2 separate regions of the Homo sapiens genome follow, and region 1 is linked to region 2. The links are contacts of gene promoters, found by promoter capture Hi-C in human tissues and cell types (Jung and others, 2019). All regions are on one chromosome and are shown on one strand. Each heading gives the region's core, a stretch centred on a gene start or on the middle of the fragment in contact. The rest is flanking DNA. Distances are from core to core; before and after follow the strand shown.

What was found. The method cuts DNA at HindIII sites, captures the fragments that hold promoters and counts their contacts. A contact is called where the count stands out against the background at its distance.
Region 1: a contact is called between a fragment that was not itself captured here and the fragment with the promoter of PTGDR in region 2, in 2 of the 25 tissues and cell types used here (bladder and mesenchymal stem cells).

Annotation. Positions count from the first base shown.
Region 1 is chr14:52,227,379-52,231,414 of GRCh38, forward strand. No RefSeq gene overlaps it. Among named protein-coding and RNA genes, the nearest start is that of PTGDR, 38 kb to the right of the region's middle. The HindIII fragment of the contact is 3,210 bases long and covers 1,087-4,036 here.
Region 2 is chr14:52,266,160-52,269,805 of GRCh38, forward strand. PTGDR (prostaglandin D2 receptor) reads left to right here and starts at 1,539. Exons shown (of 2, transcript NM_000953.3): 1 at 1,539-2,501. The coding sequence starts at 1,656. The HindIII fragment of the contact is 10,952 bases long and covers 1-3,646 here.

The DNA of each region.
Region 1 (4,036 bases), core at 1,442-3,941, 38 kb before region 2:
GGGGAGGGATAGCATTAGGAGATATACCTAATGCTAAATGACGAGTTAATGGGTGCAGCACACCAGCATGGCACATGTATACATATGTAACTAACCTGCACATTGTGCACCTGTACCCTAAAACTTAAAGTATAATAATAATAAAATAAAAATAAAAAGAAGCCCAAGACCAAAAAAAAAAAAAAAATAGACTCCACGTCCCTCCCTTTCCCACCCATAGACACTCCCTTCACATTTATTTAACTGTGTACTGGTATCTAATTATGTGCCTTCTTAGAAGTTCCAGGGGCTAATCTTCAGACACACAGCCTAAGCCTGGAGACTCAGTGACACAATTCCAGAGACTACTTCAAGCTGGCTAATCAATAACTCGGCCGTTGCTGAGATGTCTCCAGATGTCTCCAGCCCACGATCCAGGTGGACTGGGACCCAAGATAGCCACCTGAACCAGACACACATTGTACTCAGCCTAATTCTTGCATGCCTTCCTTATCAAGTTTTCCTTTTTTAAACCCCTGCCTCCCCCAACCCTAAAATCAAAGCTTTGAACAGGAATCCGGTCACTTCCCCTTTCCTGGTTTCCACTAATAGTCACTTTCTTTCTACCAGAGCTCCCTCTTGTTAATTGCACTCTGTAAGTGGTGAGCAACTGCACCTGTGTTTGGTTACAAGGTGAAGCCGAAAACGTACAGTAAAAAACAGAGTAATTATATATTTAAGTTACAGTTTATGGCAAATCATATTGGAAGTATTTACTCACCATCTGCCTTATCTATCTAAATAAAGGCTAACTGTTAATCCAGCACTTTCAATGCTTTCGACTCTCAAAGACACTTGTATCAACAGCTTCCTGGAGGTTTCCTACAAGTTCCTGTTTAAAAACAATTTGCACTCTATGTTAAGTATAATTTTAATCAAGGCTGAATCAAAGATATTGGGGCATACAATAATTTATTTCCATATATACAGTCTTAAAACAGTTTACCCATACAATATTAATTTCATTAATTGTATCTCTAAATCAAAGAGTGGATTACACAAAATTGTGTATCTGCTGTCCTTTTTATTACGCATATTTAATGTTATGGTTAAGAATACCTAAACACTGATATTGTAATTCTCTTTTTTCCTTGGGAATCTGAAATTTGAATGTAAACCAAAGGAGATACAGTAGTACCAAAATGAGGAGAGTAAAAGCCCTAGAGTGCTGAATTTGAATCCAAAGTATCCATATGAATCCAGGAGGTATTTTATCATCGCTTTATAAATATAGTGTCCCAAAAGTTTTAGGGCAATATTAAGTTCTAAAATTTCAGGAAAACAAATGTTAGGAATTTATAAAACACATCCTTTAAAACAGCAGTCCCCAACCTTTTTGGCACCAGGGACCAGTTTCATGGAAGACAATTTTTCCACGGAAGGGGAGCATAGAGGGATGGTTTCAGGATGAAACTGTTTCACCTCAGACTCAGATAATCAGGCATTAGATTCTCATGAGGAGCACCCAACCTGGATCCCTCACATGCACAGTTCACAATAGGGGTCGCACTCCTATGAGAATCTAATGCTGCCACTGATCTGACAGGAGATGGGTCCACAGCCTGGGTGTTGGGGACCTCTGCTTTAAAAGCTTAAGTATTTAAATTTGTTATACTTATTTAATTTTGTGAATTTTGAATAATAAATTTGCATTCTCAATTAGGATTACTGATGAGAAAACAAAGTACCACCTGTGGCCTATCAAGGGCTTTGAATCTGAGTTGGATCAATCCTCTAAATCCAGCTGCCAGGGAAGGGAAATACCAGAGGACAGAGGAACAGGCTAAGCTTCACTGTGAGCATGCAGTTGCAAAAGCCAGACTGTGAGAAACTACATGTCAAAGGGCCTGGGTTCCTCAACAGATAAATTGTCAGGAAAAGAAAGGGACAGAGGGGAAATCTGTGGATTATGAGTTTAAAAGAAATAAACTTCAAAAATTAGCAAGTCTAAGTTACAGTAGCTAGGGATTCTGGTATGTGGGAAGCAATATAGGCAATGGAAAGCAAGATATTCCTTGCAAGTAGACACATAATTTCTGCTAACATTCTATTGACCAAAACCAGGTCACATGGCCACATCTGTCCAGCTCCAGCTGAGGCCTGTGAATATCTCTAGCTAGGTAGCCATGTGCCTTGCTAAAATGTGGAGGTTTGATTATCAAAAGAAGAGACAGTAGATAATGGTGAATACTTATTAGTCTCTGCCACTCCCTTAAAAATGGAATACACAAACTCGCACTGTGATTTCTAACTTACACTGTACAGCTTCTCTGAATTATTCTGGAACTTAAATTTGTGCTTGTCTTTACTTGTTATTCAGAAAGTATCTAGAGCCTCTCTTGATTTTCTTTATTTTCTCCCTGACAGCATCAGGAAAGTCAGAATCTCAATCAAGCCAGGGTCTAAACAGAAACTAAGACTCAAGGAAGTAGTTTGCATTGAGAGGAGAAAGGAGATATGCATAGATAGGAGACACCAGAAAGGGAAGGAGAAGGAAGGAGAAGGTTGTGCTCTGAGGACTTTCCATTCCCATGAGGCCTGGGGTGCTTCCTGCTTTGCATTCTGTGCATATCCCTTAAACTCCTTTTTTACTTAAGCATCCTCAGGTGGATTTCTGTGTCTTGCAAACAATCTTCAGGAAGTATATAGCAACCTGTTCTAACATACTTGATCCCAAGTAGAAACAGTTTTATTTCCAGCAGGATTACAGGAACATTGCCTTATTTTGTATAACAGTCTCCCCCAGGTACCCCACTTTATAATGAAAGCGAATTGGCTTAGGTTTGGATTATATCAAATAGGGCATTTTATGACTAAGTAAAAAATCTTTTCATTGTGCTATTTATAGTTACTATGGTTAAACTTCCTTTGCTGTACAGCACTTTACTTTTCTTGGAGTTAATTGCCTGTTTTTTTTCATTTTCTTTTTTTTTTATATGTACCCATTAATTCAATGATCATTAAACCCTTCAGCAGGACTCAACTGTGAATCCTTTCTTTGCCTCTTGAGACATTTTTCCCTGCAACTTTTGTCATCTTGCTCCTTTCAGGCATAGTTGCCCTAGAGGATTTCTGGGTGTTCTTCCTCCATCATTCTGGGAATTCCATTACTGTTTTCTTGTGCCAGATCACCTCTTTCTTGTATCCTATGCCTTCTTTTTGCTTTTCAACCCCTTGTGTTTTTGAGACACATCCTCTACTACCTTCTTGTAAAGGGTGCATGGCAGGTAAAGTCTTTGAAAAATTGGATGTCTAAGACATTTTATTCTGCACACCTTCTTGATCAATAGTTTGGGCAGTATTTCCCTGAATGCTGAAGTCATTTCTTCATTTGCACCTAATTTTCAGTGTTGAAGTCAAGAAGTCAAAATCTGATACAATAAAGTTAACCCTTATAATTAGCGATCTAAAATTTCATAATGATGTGCTCTGGTGTGGTCTTTTTTTAGCCGTGTTGCTGAGTACTCAGTGGGCTCTTAAATTTGAAACCTTCTATCCTAAAGTTCTGCAGAATTGTCTTGTATTCTTTCCCTGACAGTTTTTTCCACTCCATTTTTTCTGTTCTCTATTACTTTTGTGCCTATTAGACTAATGTTAGGCCTGCTGGATTGATCTTTAATTTGTTCTTTTCTCTCCTATTGTCCATCAAGTCTTCTTGCTCCACTTCCCATTTAAAGTTGATGGTATCCTCTTTCTTGCTATTTCTGAACACCCCTCTTTATATAACATCTTGATTATTTTATTATAGATAGCATTGCTCTTCTAATCTAAAGTGTTCTTCTGTTGCATTGTCTCTGCTTTCTCTGGGAGGTTTCTTCTTGATTATTTTGTTCTCTATCTTAAATGTTGAAAGATTTTCTCAAATATCTGGATGTCCCATGGATGACCGGTTATATTTAAGAGTGAGGCATTGAAAAAAAGAGAGATTGGAATCTCTATATGCTTGGGCAGAGATTGTCTAAAGGAGAGGGGCTGCTTCCCTGGAGGGTGACATGGG
Region 2 (3,646 bases), core at 289-2,788:
TCTCATATTCCATTAGGTTGAACAACTAACCCAGGGTCACACAGCCAGTGGTGGAGTTCAGAACTATCTAATTCCAAGCTTAGATTCTTCTTTTCCACCCTGTGGCCTGAATTACTGGCCAGACTTTCAGTCTGGAGGCAGCCTCTCTGTCTACCCTTCAGGCTTTCACATCTAAATCCCAAGGGTCTTGCTCTTTCCCTGAGTCTGTCCATCAGAACTGGCATGAGGCCTAAAAATGAGCCGTTTCAAGCCCAGGCATCATCTACTCACTTACATAACAAAACCTTAGTCATCCCACTGAGATTCCACACTCAAAGCCAATTTCTCTCACAGGGCATCGAATGCTAGTTAAAGATATAAAATCACGCTTATCACAATTAACTCCCTTGCCTTTATGATGCAGCCAAGTCAAAGCCCAAACAGGAATAAATTTTTTCTAGTAGCCACAAATCAGAGGAGTGAGAAAGCTCTATGCCAAATCTACCATTTTCTGATTTCAAAATCCATGCTAAAAACTGCAGTTAAACATCAGCTACCAAAACACCCTTCTATCAAATAAGAATCATGGTGATTGCATGAATTGAGCACTTTCTATGTACTTGCTCTTTACGTGTTATTTCTATGCCTCAGAAGAGCCAAGCAGGCCAGATAGATGTTACTGCTTGAGAGGCTAAGCAAGTCCCATAAGGTCACACACACAGTGAGGAGCAGAACCTGGACTCAAACCCAGGCCTATCTGATGACAGCAACAGTGCTGCTAACCATGCCCTTCCCCCCAGCTCTCTACAGTCAATGTGATTCATGGCACCCAGGACCAACACCGGCTCTTGGCTTTCCCACAAACCACTTCCCTGAAATCTGGACAACTTCTTGGGAGGAGGAGTCATGGGAACAGGACAGATGAACTCCAAAATAGAAGATCGGGTGAGAGGTCCGGCTCTGCTACTTCTGTAGCTCTGTCACCACGGGCAGATCACTTAACTTTCCAAGGCCTCAGTTTCCTCGCCTATGCAATGGAGATGACCGTGAATGCCCCAAATTGCGCTGATCTAGTAGAGAAGAGGAGCTAAGGCTCAGGGGCTTTCCAGACGTGAGTTATCTTTACCTTTCCTTGACTAGCTAATTCAAGACAACTAGGTAGAAGCCCTTTCTCAGCCTCCCCTCTTCGCTCATCTTTCGAGTTCTTGGCCACCCCAGTTCAAACACCAGCACCATTGCCCTCCTCTCAGGTGGCTGCTGCTTAATTTCCCCTCCACTTTAGTAGTTCTTCTCTTGCCTCGCTAGAAGGACTGGTGTTGGGTGCTTGGAATTCTGGCTATTTTCCTCCTGCCGTTCCGACTCGGCACCAGAGTCTGTCTCTACTGAGAACGCAGCGCGTCAGGGCCGAGCTCTTCACTGGCCTGCTCCGCGCTCTTCAATGCCAGCGCCAGGCGCTCACCCTGCAGAGCGTCCCGCCTCTCAAAGAGGGGTGTGACCCGCGAGTTTAGATAGGAGGTTCCTGCCGTGGGGAACACCCCGCCGCCCTCGGAGCTTTTTCTGTGGCGCAGCTTCTCCGCCCGAGCCGCGCGCGGAGCTGCCGGGGGCTCCTTAGCACCCGGGCGCCGGGGCCCTCGCCCTTCCGCAGCCTTCACTCCAGCCCTCTGCTCCCGCACGCCATGAAGTCGCCGTTCTACCGCTGCCAGAACACCACCTCTGTGGAAAAAGGCAACTCGGCGGTGATGGGCGGGGTGCTCTTCAGCACCGGCCTCCTGGGCAACCTGCTGGCCCTGGGGCTGCTGGCGCGCTCGGGGCTGGGGTGGTGCTCGCGGCGTCCACTGCGCCCGCTGCCCTCGGTCTTCTACATGCTGGTGTGTGGCCTGACGGTCACCGACTTGCTGGGCAAGTGCCTCCTAAGCCCGGTGGTGCTGGCTGCCTACGCTCAGAACCGGAGTCTGCGGGTGCTTGCGCCCGCATTGGACAACTCGTTGTGCCAAGCCTTCGCCTTCTTCATGTCCTTCTTTGGGCTCTCCTCGACACTGCAACTCCTGGCCATGGCACTGGAGTGCTGGCTCTCCCTAGGGCACCCTTTCTTCTACCGACGGCACATCACCCTGCGCCTGGGCGCACTGGTGGCCCCGGTGGTGAGCGCCTTCTCCCTGGCTTTCTGCGCGCTACCTTTCATGGGCTTCGGGAAGTTCGTGCAGTACTGCCCCGGCACCTGGTGCTTTATCCAGATGGTCCACGAGGAGGGCTCGCTGTCGGTGCTGGGGTACTCTGTGCTCTACTCCAGCCTCATGGCGCTGCTGGTCCTCGCCACCGTGCTGTGCAACCTCGGCGCCATGCGCAACCTCTATGCGATGCACCGGCGGCTGCAGCGGCACCCGCGCTCCTGCACCAGGGACTGTGCCGAGCCGCGCGCGGACGGGAGGGAAGCGTCCCCTCAGCCCCTGGAGGAGCTGGATCACCTCCTGCTGCTGGCGCTGATGACCGTGCTCTTCACTATGTGTTCTCTGCCCGTAATTGTGAGTCCCCGGGCCCCGAGGCAGCAGGGCACTGAGACTGTCCGGCCGCGGATGCGGGGCGGGAAGGGTGGAGCGGATCGGGATGGACGCGGCGCCAGGCGAGCTGCGCCCTGGGCCAGGAAGGTTTGCTGCTGAGTTCCCCAAATTGGATTCCTTCCACAGCCCCGAGATATAACTCAGTTTGCGGAGCGAAATGAGGGAAAGTTAGAGAAAGGAAGGGAAAGGCTGAGCCCGGCGGTGTCTCCCTAGCCCAGCAAAACCCTCTCCATGTGGCAGAACTCCCTCCTCTCTGCTTCCTTCTGGGGAGATCTCGAGGTCATTTTTGCGCCTTAGGAGGAGCAGAACTTAGTTTCTCCTTGGCAACAGGAGTCTTCTACTTCCCGACGGCTGGGTGATGTTTTATTTTGTTAGACCTGCTCATGACTTCAGTGGTATCAGAAATGGGCGAATGGCGTCTGGGACGATCTTCTCCCCGGTGTTGGCATAGAAAGGGAAAAAGAGGTTTAAGCCAGCCAGAGTGATTTGCAGATGCATAGTTTTAATTTTGAAAAACGCGTGCGTAAACTTTGAGACGCCACGGCTGCTGTTTCTGGTGCTGCATCCGCCAGGGATTGTGGCGATGGAGGCCGAGGCTCTTTGTATGTTTTAGCTGCTGGTGTCGTTTTGACAACCTGACTTGACGGGTTTTGAGTGTATCTTGGCAAGTGAGGTGACATGAAAGCCATTATCTCCGGTTTCAATTTGGTAATGAGGATAGCGATGGAAATGAAATTATCTCCTCATTTTGAAGGCATTTGTTCCTGGAGTCCCCGCCAAGACACCTGGGAGTAGGTGAGGCTTGAGGAAACATTTTCAGTGCTGCTCCTCTCCTTTCTCCCAAGGTACCTGTTCAACAAAAACAATACTTACAGAAATTCCATTGCCAATCCCACGTTCTCGAAATCCTGAGACTTCTGTGAATAGGAAAGTTGTTAAATTTCTTCTCAGAATGTAGCCATTTTGGATATTACTTTCAATGGTGAATGAAAGGGAAATACAAAGCGATTTTCCTTTAAATGAAGGCCTTACTGCTTGCGGAAAAAGAAGTCTGGGGCATCAGCATGCAGGGGTGGGAACAGTATGCCCCCAAAATAAATAAACAAATA